6 separate regions of the Homo sapiens genome follow, and all the other regions are linked to region 4. Evidence: promoter capture Hi-C in 16 types of primary human blood cells and fetal thymus (Javierre and others, 2016). All regions are on one chromosome and are shown on one strand. The core of a region is centred on a gene start or on the middle of the fragment in contact, and the rest is flanking DNA. Distances in the headings are between cores, read along the strand shown.

Region 1 (3,108 bases), core at 308-2,807, 780 kb after region 4:
TTAACTCCCCCTGTTCAACACACCTCATACGGGATCTTAAGTCCTTCTCTGTCCCTCCAGGTACAACACAGCCCCATGAATACGGTGATTATCTTAGCACTCAGCATATAACTGGTGCTTGATGAGCATTTGTTGAAGGAATGAACCTGTCTAGATGGAAAAGAAAACAGAGGAAGACTGCCAAGCTAAATATAAAGGAGGGCAAGTGGGTGCGTGGGTGAGAGCAAGTGGGTGAGTGGGTGAGAGCAAGTGGGTGAGTGGGTGAGAGTGATAGGAGAACATGTGTCTCTGATCCTTTAAGGCTCATTGATGTGAGACTTCAATGAAGAATAAGCCTTGTGAGCAAGACTTACTCTGCAATTAACAAAGTCAACTATCATTCTGACAAGGTGACAGGGAAAAAATCTGGGGAAGAGAGGCTATATTTTGGCACAGAAACGCATTATGCCATAAAACAAATGAAGTATGAAGATATAAGCCTAACCAAAACCATACGATCATCTCAACAGCTGCAGAAAAAGCATTCCATAAAATCTAACATCTTTTCATGATAAAAGCCCTCAACAAACTAGGCATCAAAGGAACATACCTCAAAATAATAAAAGCCATATAGGACAAACCCACAGCCAACATCATACTGAATGGAGAAAATTTAAAAGAACTTCCCCTATGAACTGGAACAAGACAAGAATGCCAACTCCCACTACACTATTCAACATAATAGTAGAAGTCCTAGCCAGAGCAATTAGGCAAGATGCTGCAGGAAGTCAGGGACCCCGAACGGAGGGACAGGCTGAAGGCAGAAGAACATAAATTGTGAAGATTTCATGGACATGTATTAGTTCCCCAAATTAATACTTTTATAATTTCTTATGCCTGTCTTTACTACAATCTCTGAACATAAATTGTGAAGATTTCATGGACATTTATCACTTCCCCAATCAATACTCTCATGATTTCCTATGCCTGTCTTTACTTTAATCTCTTAATCCCATCATCTTCGTAAGCTGAGGATGTATGTCACCTCAGGACCCTGTGACGATTGTATTAACTACACAAATTGTTTGTAGAGCATGTGTGTTTGAAAATTACCGATGTCATTTTTCACAGAATTAGAAAAAACAATCCTAAAATTTATATGGAACCAAAAAGACCCTGAATAGTCAAAGCAATCCTAAGCAAAAAGAACAAAGCTGGAGGGATAGCATTATCTGAATTCAAATTATACTACAAGATGATAGTAACCAAAACAGCATGGTACTGGTACAAAAACAGACATATAGAGCAATAGAAGACAGTAGAGAACCCAGAAATAAAGCCACATACCTACAACCAACTGATCGTAAACAAAGTTGGCAAAAATATACAATGGGGAAAGGATACCCTATTCAATAAGTGGTGCTGAAACAATAAGTGGTGTTTGAACAATATGAAATCTGGGCACCTTAAGAACAGGATAACAGCGATTTTCAGGGAACAAGGGAGATAACCTTAAAGTCTGGCTGCCTTTCTCTTATTACCCAAAATGGGTAAGAGAAATACCGCTAAATTCTTTCCCCAGTAAGGAATATTAATAATTAACAGCGTTGGGAAAAGAATGCATTCCTAGGGCGGGGCCTCTAAAATGGGTGCCCTGGGAGTGTCTGCCTTATGCAGATATAGATAGGGATGAAACACACCCTAGTCTCCTGCAGCACCCCCAGGCTTGCTAGGATTAGGAAATTCCAGCCTGTCAAATTCTAGTCAGACCGGTTCTCTGCTCTTGAACCCTGACATTGTGTGCACAGCAGGACATGGAAGTTCATTAGTGATTCTAGTTTCGCCCTGACCTTCTGCCTTGTGACCTTTTGTTGCCCTTGAAGCATGTGATCTCTGTGACCCACACCCTATTCATGCACTCCCTCCCCTTTGAAAACTGCTAATAAAAACTTGCTGGTTTTACAGCTCAGGGGGCATCATGGAACCTGCCGACATGTGATGTCTCCTCCGGACACCCAGCTTTAAAATTTCTCTCTTTTGTACTCTTTCCCTTTATTTCTCAGACCGGCCGACACTTAAGGAAATAGAAAAGAACCCACGTTGAATTATCGGGGGTGGGTTCCCCTGATAGCAAGAGAAAGAAATAAAAGGCATCCAAATTAGAAAAGAGGAAGTCAAATTATCTCTGTTGGCTGATGACATGATCTTATACCTAGAAAACCCTAAAGACTCCTCCAAAAGACTTCTAGATTTGATAAATTACTTCAGTAAAGTTTCAGGACACAAAATCAATGTACAAAAATCAGCATTTCTATACACCAATAATGTTCAAGCTGAGAGCCAAATCAAGAACTCAATATCATTTACAATAGCCACAAAAAATAATAAAACTCCTAGGAATGCATTTAACCAAGGAGGTGAAAAATCTCCACAAGAATTATAAAACATTGATTAAAAAAACTGTAGATGACACAAACAAATGGAAAAGCATCCCAAGCATGTGGATTGGAAGAATCAATATCATTAAAATGCCCATACTATCCAAAGTAACATATAGATTACATGCAATTCCTATCAAATTACCGATGTCATTTTCACAGAATTAGAAAAAACAATCCTAAAATTCATATGGAACCAAAAAGACCCTGAATAGTCAAAGCAATCCTAAGCAAAAAGAACAAAGCTGGAGGGATAGCATTATCTGAATTCAAATTATACTACAAGACTATAGTAACCAAAACAGCATGGTACTGGTACAAAAACAGACATATAGAGCAATAGAAGATAGTAGAGAACCCAGAAATAAAGCCGCTTACCTACAACCAACTGATCATAAACAAAGTTGGCAAAAATATACGATGGGGAAAGGATACCCTATTCAATAAGTGGTGCTGGAAAAATTGGACAGCCATATGCAGAAGAATGAAACTGGACCCCTTTTCTTACCATATAAAAAGTTAACTCAAGATGAATTAAAGACTTAAAGGTAAAACCTGAAACTATAAGAATCCTAGAAGAAAACCTAGGAAAAACTCTTCTGAACATTGGCCTGGGCAAAGAATATATGGCTAAGCAATGCAACAAAAACAAAAATAAACAAAAGGGACTTAATTAAACTAAAGAGCTTCT
Region 2 (3,097 bases), core at 493-2,992, 530 kb after region 4:
ATTGTTGCTGCCATTTCTTCTCCAGGCTATGACATTTGTCTAGCACAGTAGATTTCAACTATAGCTACGCCAGAAGCATCTGGGGAGGCTGCTACACACGAGACTATGATTGGGTGGGGGTTCTTAACAAGTATACAGGGGTGCTGATGCAGGACCTGGGCAGATCACACCCTGGGGGTCCTGACTATCTGAGTAAGTCACTCTCTAAAGAAGGTTGTGCCTTCAAGTAAGGTTGACAGGTGATCATTATAAAACACTTTCTTCTCTGCCTACTAAGTATATCCACTATGGGATTGAGGTGTGGGCTTCCAGTGTCTCAGACCCAGTGACACATGCTACGAGGGCAGGTTGTTGGTTAAGTCAGTCACTGTACAGGAGCAGGCTGGGTGTTCGCTCCTGGTCTTCACGATCACATTTTATGTGACATTTTGTCATTTTATCCAAAGAGAAAGACAAACAACATGGGATGAGTAGTGACAAGTATGTTTTAGGTATAAACAAGGGTTTGGTTCCAGTTACAAAGCTTTATATGGTGGTCTCCTGAGGCCTCTACAGACCCTGATTTTTAAATTTCATTATTTATAGGACATTTGGAGTCTCAAATATTATCTTGAAAGATTAATAGTAAACAGGAACTGAATTCCAGAAGGTTGAGAGACTAGGGATACAAAAGATTCCCACCGAGTACCAGGCTGGTGGGGTTCTTGCCCTTGTTGTGCGTACGTGCATGCCATGACCCTGCTTTAGCCCTTACCTGCATCTGGGATGCTGTCCACAAAAGTACGGAATGATGTAAAATAACCTGGGGTTGGAGCACTCGGGATAGTTTTCAAGAATACACTCATTGATATCCTAGAAGAGAAAATACAGCAGTCAGATGTCTTGTAGTCTCTGCAAGGCTCTATCAAATGCCACACAGTTTAAGTAAAATTCATGATTGAATTACACAGGCACGCCTTGAGAAGATGAAGAGAATTCACAGATTTCATGAGAAAACTTATTTTTTGCCTCCCAGCATCCTGCTCCACTGGCCAGGCACACACAGGGCTGGGCCATTTTAGAGAGTGCATGCTCTGTTGAGTAAACTGCATCTCTGCACTTCCTGGTGGCTCCGAGTCTTAAGTTTGGTCACAGGCCTTGGGAGAACAGTGGTACCCACTGTGCTTCGTGGTGGCGCCACCAGTTGCCAGCCAATTAGTAGGTATACAGTTGGCAATTAATAAATGTTTGTTGCATGAATTTAGGGCTTCTCTGTGTATCCATGCATCCAACAACTAAGTACCTACAATAGTCTCATAAGAGTTTGCAAATTTTAGAGGAGCTGTAAAATCACTTCTAACACTATATTAGCTTAAAAAGTAGCAGGATGTTTATATACAGACACCCTCTCACTTTCAAAGGCAACAGTTGTGACGTCCAGGTTTTCCATTTCTCTTATATGAGGTTGGACATGGTGTTTCTGAGGGCGTTACCAGAGCTTGAAATGGCTTGGTGGGGGTAAGCAGAAGGGCTCAAAACCAACTTTTATCAAGGTAGATCATATTAGAGATTCTAAATAAGACATGCCTCATTCTCAGGTATTTCTAAGGAGAAAAGATAACTCAATCTACAAATAAACCAAACAGCTGTAGGATGTTTTTCCAGAGACTATACTGGCAAGGCAGATTAAGACTGGACACAACTCCCAAATATGGTTGATGAAATTATGAGTCGGTAGAAGCTACTGTATCTGATATACATGTGTGGGTGTAGGTGTTTAGGTGTGGGTGTTTAGCTAGTAACAATTTTTTTAGTTCAAATTGGGAATGAGAGAAATATAATTTATGCTTTTTCTTAAAAACAATAATCCCCTCATACTTCTTCAGTTTATATGCCAATTAAGTAAATTACACAATTACAATAACAAATTCAACGGAAATAAACAGAATCTGCAAAAAACACAATTGAGAGTACTCAAGCACTTGAGTTTACCATGAGAGGCGGAGGTGCAGTTTCCAGGGAGGAACATATGAGAAGTGAATAGGGGGGTGCATATGTCTGTCCAGCCATGTGGTGAGGGTGATTAAGAGCATCTCATTGTGTATGAAAACCCATTAAAATGCAAGACACTAGACCTGAAATACCTTTCTAAGAAGAGTTTGACACTGACAGATGTGTGTGTGTGTGTGTGTGTGTGTGTGTGTGTGTGTGTATATATGGATATTCATTGCTGCAATGAGTTTATTTATTACAACAAAATATGGCAGAATTTACATGTTCACGAACGGGGGATTGGTTTTAAGAGAAATTATGGTACATTCACACACTGAAATACTGGATACCTGGAAAAAATGAGAAGGATCTGTGTGTGCTATCCTGAAAAGTCTTGGATAAATTTTCAAGTGAATGAAAGTATAGACTACAGGACAATATAAACATGTAGGACAATATAAAAATCAACATGTTTACATAAACACAAAAGGATCTGGAAGGAGACACAGCACACGATTGAAAGCAGTTTTTTCTGGTGGTTGGCATAAAGGAAGATGAGAATATACTGAATTTTTCCTTATTCCTTTTTTGAAGTGTTAGCTTTTATTACAATGTACGCATCTTACTTTTTTTGTTTTTTTTTTTGAGACAGAGTCTTGCTGTCCCCCAGGCTGGACTGCAGTGGCGTGATCTCGGCTCACTGGAAGCTCCACCTCCCGGGTTCACGCCATTCTCCTGCCTCAGCCTCCCGAGTAGCTGGGACTACAGGTGCCCGCCACCACACCCGGCTAATTTTTTGTATTTTTAGTAGAGATGGGGTTTCACCGTGTTAGCCACGATAGTCTCCATCTCCTGACCTCATGATCCGCCCGCCTCGGCCTCCCAAAGAGCTGGGATTACAGGCGTGAGCCACTGTGCCCGGCTGCATCTTACATTTATTGTGAGAAAACTGTACAGAGATTTACACACTGTGAAACAAACCAAAGCTTGTGCGGGCGGGTGCCTGTGCTTTGCCTTGAGGATGCTCTGAGCCCCCTGCCCTGCTCACATTTGAGGGTGTCCTCTGGTAGTTGGCCTCCCCTTGGAACCTGAGCCTTTAGTCCGAGGGACCCAATAACCCTGGTGG
Region 3 (3,458 bases), core at 205-2,704, 540 kb after region 4:
CTGGAATCTCCAACCAATGAATGCCAAGATTCTTTAATTACATTATGAATTAAGGCATCTACTGTACATAAGGCATCACAGTAAGCACTCTGGCTTTAAGCGACCAATGAATAACTGGATTGATTTTCCTTTATTTGTAGTTTATAATATGTAACTATGCTAATACTTATATAGAATATCTTCTTGGTAGTTCTCATTATTTTTATGATTTTTTAAAATTAATGCCTTTGCCTTATATTAAAATGTGTCATACGGCCAGGCGCAGTGGCTCACGCCTGTAATCCCAGCACTTTGGGATGCTGAGGCAGGTGGATTACCTGAGGTCAGGAGTTCGAGACCAGCCTGACTAATATGGTGAAACCCCACCTCTAGTAAAAATACAAAAATTAGCTGGGCGTGGTGGTCTGTGCCTGTAGTCCCAGCTACTCGAGAGGCTGAGACAGGAGAATTGCTTGAACCCGGGAGGCGGAGGTTGCAGTGAGCTGAGATTGCGCCACTGCACTCCAGCCTGGGTGACAGAGTGAGACACCATCTCAAAAAATAAATAAATAAATACATAAAAAGTAAAAATAAAAATGTATCATGTTATTATTCCTACACTAAATTTATTTAGTTTTTAACTGGTAACTCTCTCCAGTCTCATTATTTTCAGCCTCTACTTTTAGTAAATGAACCTTTCTATTTTTAATAAATTAATTTAATCATTTACTTTTAGTGAGATTAAAATACTTAATTTCTGCACCTTACATTGCGTTTTTTAAAATTTGCTATTCTTTTTTTCCTGCATCTTTTTTCTTTTCATGTCTTCTGTTGGTTTAATAGAGTTTTTAATAATATCCCTTCCCTGTCCTCTACTGCTTTAGAATCTAAGGATTACATTTTACCCTTACATTTTTTTTTTAACATTGTAAGATTTTTTTTCAAACACATGGATGACTCTTACAATTTAAGAAAATAAAAATAACAAAGGAGCTTAAGATACTTTCATTACTGAGAGAGTCTGAGGAAGGGCAAAGAATTTTAAAAATTCATTTGTAAATAGATGATGAGAAAGATAAGTAAATGGAAAAGTCATTAAATTTTTTTTAACATTCAAACTTGATTAAATTTTTTCTAATAAAGCATGAAGTAATTTGGTTTTCTTATATTCCTCCAAATCGGAGATGAATTTTAGCAACTTTATCCATTAAACACCACTCACCTTTTTAAAGTTGCCTAATTGTAATCTTTTTTTAACATACAAACAACTTTTAACACTTAATATTCAACTCATTTTACTAACATTGTTTTACTCAACAGCTCTGTTCACTGTTGCTTTTTATGCCCTTGTACCTTAATTTCCCCCATAATTCATCTTTTAATAATGCTTTTAATGAACTCAGTAAGTAGGAAACTCTCTGTGTCTGAAAAAGGCCAGTGGAATGATTGTTTAGCTGGGTATAAAATTCCAGGTTCACAATTTTTTTATCTCAACACTTTGAAGATATTACTGTACTGTCATCTGATATCTATTGTTGCTGACAAGAAGTCTGCTATGAGCCTAACTATGATTCCTTCATTGGTCATCTGCTTTGCTTCCTTTTCCTTGATATCTTCAGTTTCACTCTAAAATACTTGTGTGAATATTTAAATTTGTTTAATCTGTTCAGTACTCCCAGTGTACTTTTAGTATGAAGGATCACATCTCCAGGCCAGGCGCGGTGGCTTATGCCTATAATCCCAGCACTTTGGGAGGCCAAGGTGGGCAGATCCGAGGTCAGGAGATCAGGACCATCCTGGCTAACATGGTAAAACCCTGACTCTACTAAAAATACAAAAAAATTAGCCAGGCGTGGTGGTAGGTGCCTGCAGTCCCAGCTACTCAGGAGGCTGACGCAGGAGAATGGCATGAACCTGGGAGGTAGAGCTTGCAGTGAGTCGAGATCATGCCACTGCACCCCAGCCTGGGTGACAGAGCAAGACTCTGTCTCAAAAAAAAAAAAAAAAAGAATCATCTCCAATTTTGGAATATTTTGTCCTTTAATTGCTTCAAATATTTCTTCCCTAACATTTTTCTATTCTCTTTTTTCTGGATCTCCTATCAGATGCCTGTTGAAACTTTACAATATTTTTTCCATGTCTCTTAACTGCTCTATCTGTCTATCTGTTTCTGAATTCCATTCTTGGTGAATTCCTCTTGACTATTTTCTAAATCAATTAATATTCTCTTTAACTTTATTTAGCTTAGAACTTATCTATTAAATTTTTACTTCAATAACCATATTTTTCATTTTACTTAATTATTTTAAAGATATCCTCATGTCCTTGTTTCATGTCTCTCTTACAATTTTCTGCTCTTTTTAAATGGAAGCTATTCATTCTTTTGTCTTTTCAAACATCCTAGGCACACTTATTTTAAAGACTTTGTCAGGTTGTTCCTTAAAGCCATCTGGAGTGTATTCATATTCCAGTACTAGATTTTGCTGCCTGCCTTTCTTGGTATTGGATTTTTTTTCCATGTTCCTTAGAATGTATGGTCTGTAGGCTCATTTTGGGTAGGAGATTCATAATCTGTCTCCGTCTTCTTCCTCTCTCTGCTGCCTCTCTCCTCTCCCTGTCTCTCTTTCTTCCTCCTTCTCACCCTCTGTCTTATTCTAGTGGTTTTGTGGCTTCTACCATCCGGACTCCCGGGTCCTGAGTCCAGAATCAGGTCTTAGTTTTACTTCCCATCTTATGAGAGCAATGAGAATATTACACATTTGCTTACAAAGGAGCAAATAGTTTGGTTCACTTCTTACTTGTGAGTTTGTGGTTTTGTTTTTCCACCTCTGTATATCTCTAGCCTCTTATAAGGGCATAGTTCCAGGCAGAAGATGAGCAGTTGCTACGTTTAACTTCCTTTACTTGGAAAGTGAGGGGAAGTGTGGCTTCTCACCCCATGCCTTGGTTTAAAGCACTGAGCCTGGTCTGGCCCTCTTGTTGGCCAGGACACTTCTAGTCTCCTTGACCTTGTCCTATTTCTGGCTGCCACTACTGGATTCTGGACCAGAGCCCAGCTGGCCTGTGGATTCATCATTGCTCACCACTCAGGAATTCCTCCATGCATGAGGATGTTCTTATTTTATAATAAAGCTGGTAAATCCTTTGGATTTCCTCTTTTTATATTCTATCAATCATTACAATATATTTGGGGTCAAGAGAGTGTGAACTCAGTATACCATCTTGATTGGGAGCCCTGTATGGGCTATTCATGCTTCTTTGCTACAGGAAGGTCTATCAGAGGAAATGCTGAGTGTAGAGGCATGGATAACCTGGGATGTAAGGAGTGAAACTTGCAAAGTTAGAGGAAAGAAGTTGAGTAAGATGTCAAGTCTGTGCCAAAGCAAGGTCACATGTTTAGAGAAACGTAATCATTTTTGCTCTATATGTCAGAGGGTAAAGGACAATGCACAGTTTAAGTCAGACATCAAACAGCATTA
Region 4 (3,539 bases), core at 837-3,336:
CAAGCAGTTCTCCTGCCTCAGCCTCCTGGGTAGCTGGGATTACAGGCATGCGCTACCACACCCAGCTAGTTTTTTTTTTTTTTTTTGTATTTTTTATTAGAGACGGGGTTTCACCATGATGGGCCCGGCTGGTCTCAAATTCCTGACCTCAGGTGATCCGCCCACCTCGGCCTCCCAAAGTGCTGGGATTACAGGCATGAGCCACCACGCCCAGCCATGAATATTGTGGTGGCAGTCGCTGTGGCGGGCACCTGTAGCCCCAGCTACTGGGGAGGCTGAGGCAGGAGAATCGCTTGAACCCAGGAGGCGGAGGTTGTAGTGACCTGAAATCGCACCACTGCACTCAAGCCTGGGCAACAGATCGAGACTCCGTCTCAAAAAAAAAAAAAAAAACCCAAACCGAAAAACCATATTTATTCATTCAACAAACATTTATTTGCACATTGTGTACCAGGCTGTCATACGCATTAGGGATATAGCTTTAAACAAAACAGACAAGATGGAATATCCTGGAACACACATTCTAGTAACAATAAACAAACAAACAAATTCGTAAATAGCATGTTAGATTGTAAAATGTACTCTGGAGAAAAAGCTATATGGAGAAAAAGAAGTGTCTGTGGGGTTAATTTTAATTATGGCAGCCATGGAGGGCCTCACTGACAGGGTGACCGACGCCAAAGCGCCTGAAGGAGGTGAATGGGAGCCATACAAATAACTGGAGGAAGAGGTCCCTCAACCAAGGCAAGTGAAAAGGCCATGGGGCAGGAGTATGTCAGCAGTGTTCAGGGAATAGCAAACTGTCTACTGTGGCTTCAGAGGAATAAGAAGATGGCGTAGGATGGGGTAGGAGAGGATCTTGTAAATCATTATAAAAGCTCTGGCTTTTCCGCCAGGTGCGGTGGCTCAAGCCTGTAATCCCAGCACTTTGGGAGGCGGAGGCGGGCGGATCCACGAGGTCAGGAGGTCGAGACCATCCTGGCTAACACGGTGAAACCCGGTCTCTACTAAAAACACAAAAAATTAGCCGGGCGTGATGGCGGACACCTGTAGCCCCAGCAACTCGGGAGGCGGAGGCAGGAGAATGGGGTGAACCCGGGAGGCGGAGCTTGCAGTGAGCCGAGATCGCGCCACTGCACTCTAGACTGGGCGACAGAGCGAGACTCCGTCTCAAAAAAAAAAAAAAAAAAAAAAGCTTTGGCTTTTCGTCAGATGTGAAGTTATTGGAGATTATGTGTAAAATGTCATAAGAAAGAGTGACAGGCTTGCCCAGAAGAGTGTCTGGGGAATAAACTTGCATGGCAAAATGTTAGTTTTGGCCAGGCGCAGTGGCTCACGCCAGTAATCTCAGCACTTCGGGAGGCCAAGGCGGGAAGAGTTCGAACTCCTTGAGCTCAGGAGTTTGAGACCAGTCTGAGCAACATAGTGAGACCACCTCCCCCGACCGCCATCTCTACAAAAAATAAAAGAACAAAATTAGCCGGGCGTGGTGGCGCGCGCCTGTGGTCACTTGGGAGGCTGAGACAGGAAAATCGCTGGAGCCCGGGAGGTGGAGGTTGCAGTGAGCCGACATCGCGCCACTGCACTCCAGCCTGGGCAACAGAGCGAGACCCTGTCTCAAAACAGAAAACAAAACAAAATGTTAGTTCTTAGAATCGGAAACCCCTAGTAGAGGCCCAAAGTTGTTTTGCGAAAAGGAGACTGACGAGGAAACCCGGAGGAGTCCGCCCAAATAGGTGGAGAGAAGATCCCGCCGCGGGCGCCCCCTGGTGGATAAAAGGGCCGCGCGGAGGGCCGCTCTGCTCTTGAGACGGACACAAACGGGGCACAAAACACTATACTGAGACCGTTCTGAGGGACAGGCTTCCACCAAAATCGCCAAGGGCGGACCAGGATTTTCAAAACGGCCGCGCCGGGGGCGGGACCAACCCGATCCGTAAGTCAGCTGGGCAGCCCGGCGCCCGCACGCCGACCGGAAGGAACTGCTCGGAACCGGGGGCGGCGCCGGCGAGATGACGCAAAAGGGGTCGCGCCGAGGGTGACGCGTGGCGTAGACGACGCCGTCGGCCTGCGCCTGTCACCCCCCTCCTCCCGGGGTTTGTAGCGGAGGAGGAGCGGGCGCCATGGCGGTTCTACTGGAGACCACTTTAGGCGACGTCGTCATCGACTTGTACACCGAAGAACGGCCGCGTGGTGAGGCTTGAGCCCCACTCACCTGTCGCCGGGGCCCCCGAGCTTGTCTCCCTACTTTCCCTTCTCTGCGCAGTCCAGGGCAGAGATTGGCTAGAGCTCGAGCTTCTGGGCTGCTGGTGCCCGCGACTGGGCTATTTTATTAACCGGCCTTGGCTAGAAAAGTTTTTGTGACGGGAATTCGTTTGAGCCTTGGCAGCCCTTCTCCCGTATTTTGTGTTGGCCAGTCCGGTGGACGGTGCTTGCGGTCATTAATTGCCTTTGGGAGTGTGTGTGTGGGGCGTGTGTGTGTGTGATTCGAGCTGCACATACAATACCCATAGCTTTTGTGCCTTTATTGTGTTTACTCGTGAGAGGAACATAGGAACTATTGCTTGGTGTGTAATCGGTTAAATCTTGATGAAGGCAGTTAGGGTGTGCTTGGCGCAGCGAGTGTGGGCATACCGCTTAGGTGGAGGAGGAAGAGGTTGTCTGGAGTGTGGACTGAGCCTTCGAGGCACTGGGCTAAGTCCTGGGCTTGGCTTCTTGCCCCCGAGGGTCTGATTTTTCCACTGGGGGAAGTAGACACAGGAACCCATTTTAGTTTTCTATGTGTTATGGTAGAAGAATGTGTAAGTTGCCACGGAAACCAGAAGAGGGCGGCTTCTTTGGTGGGGGGTGGGAAGAAGCAAAGCTAGCGAATACTATATAGAACACTTGAACTAGTTCTTTCAAAGATGAATGGGAATGAGGGTTTTCTTAGCTTGGACTTTCTTTGTTTGGAATTTTCTGGAAACGGCAAGTAGTTTGGTGTGGCTGGAAGGACTGGTGTGAGTCGTGGAATGGTAGACTCGAGTGTGGTCAGATACGCCTAGGTCAGTCGTGAATAGTCTTGTGTGCCCTACTGATGATCAGAGTCCTTGAAGACTTTAAAAGCAGGATTGAGGCATGGCATACTTGTTTTGAGAAGATAATAGGCAGCGGTGTGGAGAATGTATCAGAGTCAGGAAGAAACTGAGACCAGGAGAGATTAGTTACAAACAGGGTCCTACCCACATGGAATGCAGAGCCTATCAAAGAAGGTGAAATAAGTTGCAATATTGTACAATAACTACCTCCTGCCGTGCTCCGCTTTCCCTCGCACGCAGCTATTCCTCCCTCCTCTCCACCTGGCGAAAACACTACAAACTCTCCCGTACCATTGTTACCATTCTTTTGCTGTTTCTTCTAAACAATATTCTTCTCCACTATTGTCCTTCTGGCAAACTTACTACTTATTATCTAAATCTCAGATCAAGCATCATCTCTTCTTTGAAGCTCTCCCTCCTTTCTAAGCAGAGTTACCTGAGGGTTCCTCTGCTGTGTCTTAG
Region 5 (3,519 bases), core at 609-3,108, 580 kb after region 4:
TCACAGAGGCTAAATCCAAGTCACCCAGCTAAGGCAGCTGAGAAGGGAATATAAATACACCTTATCTTGGGCCCCTGGCTCAGCCTACAATTGGAAGCTAAATTTGAACTAGTTGAAGACCAAGAGCGTAACTTTCTTACCGTCACGTATTTGGAAAACATAGATATTTACTGAAACACTTAAAAAGCAGACAATCCAAAGCCCTTCTTCATTTTATTTATTTAAGAAAAACAATGCCTTAGAAATAGAGGCAATGCCTGAGGTTTCTTTTGCTCAAAGGACAGTCTCAGCTGGTTGGGACAGAGTGGAAATTTCCACATGCTGGTATTTCATATGTATACTTTCAAAGTTAAAGGACATTCAGAGTCCAAAACTTTCAAGTAGATTAAAATGCATAGCTTTCTAAAAACCTTTGCTGACTCTGGCCAATTTTCAGACTTCTCCAGAATCCAACAGGGCCAACATGATTCACTGAATTCTTTATGAATTAAGAAGCTGTAAATTACACATCTTTTCTTTTAAACATGCATTACTTTCCACATTTTACAGCCAAGCCGAATAAACAGTGTCACAGAGGCAGTGTTCTCTCTGGGAAGATTTTCTCCCTTTTCTTCCTATTCTTCAAATGGAGGATGGCCTAGTGAAGTGGCAATAATGGTTAGGGCAGCAGCCCAATTTGACATTTTTGAGAACTTGATGTGTAACCAGCAGGGTGAAAATGACAGCATAAGAAATCCACTTTCATGGAAGCTCCAAGACTGGAAAAGGGAGTGGCTTCAGCAGGAATAAGATGCTCTCCCTCATCTGGAGATGACAACAGTTGCTCTTCATTAGAAAAAGCTTTCCACCATTCATTAAATATGGTCTGTGTGCCAGGTATTTCCCTACCCTGGAAATAAAGGAGGCTGGACATGAGCTGGATTAGAGTCTCAGGTGCTGGGATGTGTCCAAGTGTGCCTGGGTTCAGAGGACTCCCACCCCCAAAAAGGAGGCAGCCACCTCCACACTGGGGAGCTTCCAGCTCTGGACAAAAAGAAATGAGCCTAAGACAACTGCCTTTTCACAGTATGGCTGCTAGAAGTTGAACTTGCATCTATGCGAGCACTAATTTATTTAAAAATGATTTTCCAGGAAATGCAAAGGAAGAAGAGTTTGGAAAGAAATAGAAAGTTTGAGAAAAGCTAGTTGTTCCCAGAAAATAAGGTATAGCTATAAGATGCTTGAATATTTGAAAACAAATTGCTGTAACAGCGATGTCTTTGTAAAGATGGAGAGACGATGTTACATCAAATGATTCTGCTTCAAAAGCGTGGGACTCGGCCCAGTCCTCTTCTCCCTTTACCCTTCAGGAACATAAGGTCTGAGTGGGCAAACAGCACCGAAGTGGAATCAGGAGGTCTGGATTCTCCTCCTGGCAGGGACTTTACCCCACCCCGAATCCCAGGCCCGTTCCCACACCTGTAAAATGAGAGAGTCCTCATCCTCTTTGGGGTTCCTGCAAATCCTAGGATTCCTTTACCCTTTCCATTTTCTTCCAAACCACCCTGCCTCACAAGATGATATTATTTCATCCTCAGAGCAGGCTTGGAGGCAGGCACTGGCCACTCCCAGCTGTATGCTAAGCAGCTCTGTGAGGCTCAGGGCCAGGGGCAGAACTGCCCGAATTTTGGCAATGGGATAAAGCAAGGGGCTTTAGAGCACTGAGATCTGGAATGACGTGGTAAATCAGCAGACTCATTTCAGGCCAGCAACCAAGACCCTGTGGGCATGCGGTGTGCAGGGAAGGGCCTCCGAGGGGAGGGGTGGCCGGCAAGGAGGGGACAGTGGGCTCCTCACAGCTGCCTGCGCCCCGCTGAGACACAAACAACACCCTCTTTTGAGTCAAACAACTGACTACCCAGCCTTTGCCAAAATGAGGACAGACTCTTCTGAAAGGGGGCAATTTTATTTCAAGGGTCTAATGGGACCAAGGAGATGGAATTAAAAGTTTCAGCTATTAAAAAAAGGCAATAGACCATCTTCTTCCAAATAAACAAACTATCCTTTGAACAAGAAGACAGCCTTCTAACCAGGTCAGGCTGGAACCAGATCATGAAGGGGACACCCCTCCCCCCCACCACCAGGCTCTCCTCTCTTGAATCTGAGCCCCCCCGAGTTTCTGCTGTGCTGCTTTGGGGAGCCCAGTGCTTTCCTGCTGGGGCCTTGCCAAGGATCGATCTGATGACCTCATCTGACATAGACCCTTCCCGAACACAGTGCTTACATTTGGAAAGGAGCCCCTACAAATTTCTAAGGGCAGAATTCCAGGCAGGGAAATCTCTCTACAATCTCTCAAGTCACATAACAAAGGCAGTTACCAGCTCTTCAAAAATATAACACTTGCCCCAACTACCAACTTTCAATATTTTATGACCTTTTTAAAAAAACTCCAAACCAGGCTGGGCACGGTGGCTCACACCTGTAATCTCAGCACTTTGGGAGGCTGAGGTGGGTGGATCATTTTAGGTCAGGAGTTCGAGACCAGCCTGGCCAACATGGTGAAACCCCCGCCTCTACTAAAAATACAAAAATTAACCAGGCGTGGTGGGAAGCACCTGTAGTCCTAGCTGCTGGGGAGGCTGAAGCAGGAGAATCGCTTGAACCCCGGAGGTGGAGGTTGCAGTGAGCAGAGATCTTGCCACTGCGCTCCAGCCTGGGCAACAGAGCAAGACTGTGTCTCAAAACAAAAACAAAAACGAACAAATGGAAACTCCAAACCATAATTTTTTCCCCTCACATTTGCCACCTTTCTCTCTAATGATTGCAGCTTATTATTTGTGTGAGTGTGTGAAAACTGCATTATATGAAATGATTTACAGGATGGCAACAGAAGCTTGACAGAACGGAAGAAGCTAGAGCATTCCTCTTAACTCTTACATTAATATTTGAAGAGTAGTGTTCATAAGACGTGTTTCTGTATTGTTGGTTTTTTGGCATTTTCTGCTGTCCTTTGGTTCTAACTTTCTTAGCATGAGGATTGAATCAGAACTATGAAAAAATTGTCTGGATTAAATGGAATGTATGCTGTTTTTAAAGAGCATATAGATATATTAATCAAGATCCAAAACAAATAATAAAGATAATTAGAGAAGACATTATTCTTGTAGTGTTTCTATACTCTGAATACACGTCTCACCAAATAAAAAACATATAGTCATATTCATAACCTATAGTTTTTTATTTTATTTAATTATTATTATTATTATTTTTTGAGATGGAGTCTCGGTCTGGCACCTAGGCTGGAGTGCAGTAGCACGATCTTGGCTCACTGCAACCTCTGCCTCCCGGATTCAAAGGATTCTCCTGCCTCAGCCTCCCAATTCGCTGGGATCACAGGCATGCGCCACCATGCTCGGCTAATTTTTGTATTTTTAATAAAGACAGGTTTTCACCATGTTGGCCAGGCTGGTCTCGATCTCCTGGCCTCAAGTGATGCACCTGCCTCGGCCTCCCAAAGTGCTGGGATTACAGGCGTGAGCC
Region 6 (3,347 bases), core at 190-2,689, 560 kb after region 4:
CATACCACTAGCTGAAATCCAGGCTCTATTACTTACTAGTGGTATGAACTGAGGCAAGTTACTTAACCTCTGTAATCCTTGGCATCTCATCTGCAAAACAGGTATAATAATACCAATCTTAGGGGGATGCTGTAAGAATTAAATGAGATATTACATATGTGGCAGCCATGAATCTCTCCCATTGCTGGAAGAGTAAGTAACCAATGGTCCCAGCTGCTTTGTTCGATTTTATCACCTCATTTGTGCCAAGGGCATGCTTCCCGTAGGCTAATATCAGGCAGTGACTAGTGTGACAAGTTGTCTAAGGCAGGCCCATTCCTGCAACACACAGGACTCCTCTGATGAATGACTTTGGCTGACAACTTCCCCTTGGCCTGACTGAAACTTTCTTAAAACTACACTGTGTTCTGAGGCTCTCCTTACCCAATAGTCCTTCCCCTGTTCTTTATAGGAATCAGATCTACTATGGGTTTGATGGCTCTTCCTGCCTCCTTTTCCCTTCACAGGCATTTCCCCCAATAAATCTCTTGCACATCCAATCTCATCTTGGTATCTGCATCTTGAAGAAGCCCTTTAGGTTGTGTATATGGTATGTGCTCAATAGTATTTGTTTTTTAAGAGAAGAGTAATGTGGAATCTCCTTGCGCTTTAGGTTCTGAGGACCTACCTCTTCCTTTGGTAAGTGATCCTGAAAGAGAACGTGACAATCCCACGCATACCTCTGCATGCCTCACCAGGCCAATGCAGACCAGACTTCCCCACCACTATCTTCATTTTTTCCACATCTTTCTTGCCCCATCTGCATATCCATCTTGCTTCTACCCTTGTCACTAAATGGAAACTGCTCTTGCCAAGATTAGTAGAAATCTAATGGTTACGTTTTCTATTCTCATTTTAGATATTCTTCCTTGAAGCTTCTGACAGTCATGAACCTCTCAGAACTTTTTTCCTCTGATTCTCTGACACCACCACACCTCTATATTGTACTCTTCCTGGGACTCTTGTTCAGTTTTTGTTGTTGTTGTTGTTGTTGTTTTGCTTCAAAGTCCTCAGTTGGTGCTAAAAAATGGGTGACTCTGGGCTCTTTTATCCTCATCCCTGATACGCACCCCATGGCTCTAATTCAACAACTTCAGCAGATAATTACTGAGCACCAACATTGTTCCAGACATGATCTCAACCTTCACAGAATATTTTAGTAGATTGATTACCCTCTCTTTGGATACTGATAACTTCCAATTCCACATATTCAGCACAGCCCACTTTTCTGCCTGCTGGGTGTCTCCATTCATATGTACTGCAAGCACCTGAAACTCAGCATATCCAAAGCAGAATTTATTTTTCCTGCACATCCGTCCCGTTATTCCCTACCCTCAGCAGTACCTTGCATCAGCTTACTCCAACTAGAAACCTAGAATCATCCTGAACGCCTCTTCATCCTTTAGCTCCATAGCCAATTACTCATGAAACAATTGTTGATCTTATTACATAGACATGTCTTTATCCATTCCTCTTGGTCTCATGTACCATGACAATCCTATTTCAAACCAAAATAGTTTATTTTGCTCTACTCCAAACATCCTCCCCTTGCAAGATTTTCTAAATGAAAATCTTGGCTGAGTGCAGTGGCTCATGCCTGTAATCCCAGCACTCTGGGAGGCCAAGGCAGAAAGATGGCTCAAGGCCAGGAGTCAGGACCAGCCTGGGAAACACAGCAAGGCCCCATTCGCTAGGGTAGTGCACACCTATAGCCCGAGCTACTTGGCAGGCTGAGGTGGGAGGATTGCTTGAGCCCAGGGGTTTGAGGCTGCAGTGAGCTATGATTGTGCCACTGCACTCCAGCCTGCAAGACAGAGTGAGATCCCGTCTCTAAAAAACAAATTAATTAAAAATAAATAAATAAATGCAAATCCTATCATGTCATGATGTCTAGGACTTTTTATTGTCTTTAGCATAAAGCTTCAAATATTTAGAATATCTTTTTAAGGGCTTTGATGATTGATCTATTGCCCACCTCTCCAGCTTTCATATCACACCCCTGTTCTCATCCATATGAGATTCTTGCAGTACTTGGGACCCTTGACCTATGCACGTATTGTTCCCACAGCCTGATCATCTCTCCCAATACTTGTTTAATGTCTGTTTTCCCTGATAGATTATATACTCTGGGAGGGCTAGAACCACATCTGTGTTTTTCATTAGTGCATTCTCAACATCTGCTAAAGGGCTGGCTACAGAGTAGGTGCTGTGCATTTGTTGAAAGGAAGAATGAAGGAATTGACCATATCTGAATATAAGTAGTCTAAACATTTATGCACATGATGTATATAATAATCAGTTGCAGATGGGTAGGTTCCTGAAAAGATGTTGGTAACAAAATGCCAGACCCACCGGGTTTATTTATAGTTAAAGGAAAAAACCCAGGAAGAACAGTTTAATTTTTTAAAAAAAGAACAAGTCAAATTTCAGCCACTGGCATCGATGTTATCGTGTGTTTGTACACATGCATGTGTACACTGTGTGATGTGGGGGTGGTGGTGATAGGGTCTCCTATGGTGATTTGGTCACCTTGAAGACTACGTCCTCCTTTTCTGGACAAGGAATGAGGTTGCACTAGGCTGTCTTCAGAAGTAGATTGGTGAACAACACATTGGAAAAGTTTAGGTAACAGCTGTCACTTCTGAGTTTTATCATTTTGTTTCAGAACTTAACATACGCTCTTTTCAGACATTCTTGTACTTCACAAATTTCTTCTTGACATTTTATTTCCTACATTCGCTTTTCCTGGTAAACACCCCATAGGGCTCAGCCTTTGCTGGCAGCATGATAGCAGGAGTTAACTCTGTGTGACATTTCCAACCCTCCTGCTCCAGCCGTAACAACTCAAATGACTGGCTGAGATGAGATAACCTCTATGTTTCTTTTCTGCCTTGAAATATTATGACTAATTGAGGTATGATTTTTTTTTCCTTTTATCAACTCCATGGGATCCCATGTTAAAAGACCTTGATGACGAATCCTGTTCTTCCATTTGGCTTCTTGCTTCTGATTGTTTTCATTCCTGCCTTGTTCCTAGCCTCCTATTCTACTGTGCCAATGACGGTAGGCTCACAGGTCAAGGGCCTACCCAGTAAGACTCCATTCCAAGAGCCGCTGGTAAGATGTTTAATTGTTTCTTGCCACAGCTTTGTCACTTGCAAAAAGGGACTAATAAGGCTATCTTGGTGAATAGCACATTCTTGGAAGACGGTTGACTTAATGAGGTGTTTTGAGTTTTTTAAAGCGAAAAGCCCTTTGAAAACTTGGTGTTAACTGATGCCGTAATGTAAAATTATTTATTTTGACTG

What was found. Contacts are between HindIII fragments. The CHiCAGO score rates a contact against its expected background, and 5 or more counts as called.
Region 1: a fragment that was not itself captured here is called in contact with the fragment with the promoter of PPIL4 in region 4 in 1 of 17 cell types (naive CD8 T cells); the score reaches 6.4 in naive CD8 T cells.
Region 2: a fragment that was not itself captured here is called in contact with the fragment with the promoter of PPIL4 in region 4 in 8 of 17 cell types (activated CD4 T cells, non-activated CD4 T cells, total CD4 T cells and 5 more); the score reaches 18.6 in activated CD4 T cells.
Region 3: a contact is called between a fragment that was not itself captured here and the fragment with the promoter of PPIL4 in region 4, in 5 of 17 cell types (activated CD4 T cells, non-activated CD4 T cells, total CD4 T cells and 2 more). The highest score is 12.5, in activated CD4 T cells.
Region 5: a fragment that was not itself captured here is called in contact with the fragment with the promoter of PPIL4 in region 4 in 1 of 17 cell types (non-activated CD4 T cells); the score reaches 6.1 in non-activated CD4 T cells.
Region 6: a contact is called between a fragment that was not itself captured here and the fragment with the promoter of PPIL4 in region 4, in 1 of 17 cell types (non-activated CD4 T cells). The highest score is 5.3, in non-activated CD4 T cells.

What each region holds. Positions count from the first base shown.
Region 1 is chr6:148,763,495-148,766,602 of GRCh38, reverse strand. The region is part of intron 1 of UST (uronyl 2-sulfotransferase); the gene reads right to left. LOC107986659 (a long non-coding RNA gene) reads left to right here. Exons shown (of 2, transcript XR_001744408.2): 1 at 1-3,108. Among named protein-coding and RNA genes, the nearest start is that of UST, 18 kb to the right of the region's middle. The HindIII fragment of the contact is 7,407 bases long and covers 1-3,108 here.
Region 2 is chr6:149,016,894-149,019,990 of GRCh38, reverse strand. UST (uronyl 2-sulfotransferase) reads right to left here. Exons shown (of 8, transcript NM_005715.3): 6 at 755-852. Among named protein-coding and RNA genes, the nearest start is that of UST-AS2, 14 kb to the left of the region's middle. The HindIII fragment of the contact is 2,434 bases long and covers 526-2,959 here.
Region 3 is chr6:148,999,602-149,003,059 of GRCh38, reverse strand. The region is part of intron 5 of UST (uronyl 2-sulfotransferase); the gene reads right to left. Among named protein-coding and RNA genes, the nearest start is that of UST-AS2, 31 kb to the left of the region's middle. The HindIII fragment of the contact is 6,154 bases long and covers 1-3,458 here.
Region 4 is chr6:149,544,590-149,548,128 of GRCh38, reverse strand. It overlaps PPIL4 (peptidylprolyl isomerase like 4), which reads left to right and starts at 2,086. Exons shown (of 13, transcript NM_139126.4): 1 at 2,086-2,193. The coding sequence starts at 2,124. RefSeq lists enhancers at 517-1,193, 1,897-2,196. The HindIII fragment of the contact is 2,652 bases long and covers 1,198-3,539 here.
Region 5 is chr6:148,965,955-148,969,473 of GRCh38, reverse strand. The region is part of intron 5 of UST (uronyl 2-sulfotransferase); the gene reads right to left. Among named protein-coding and RNA genes, the nearest start is that of UST-AS1, 3.0 kb to the right of the region's middle. The HindIII fragment of the contact is 2,032 bases long and covers 843-2,874 here.
Region 6 is chr6:148,983,076-148,986,422 of GRCh38, reverse strand. The region is part of intron 5 of UST (uronyl 2-sulfotransferase); the gene reads right to left. It overlaps LOC124901424 (a long non-coding RNA gene), which reads left to right and starts at 2,976. Exons shown (of 2, transcript XR_007059805.1): 1 at 2,976-3,156. The HindIII fragment of the contact is 1,045 bases long and covers 917-1,961 here.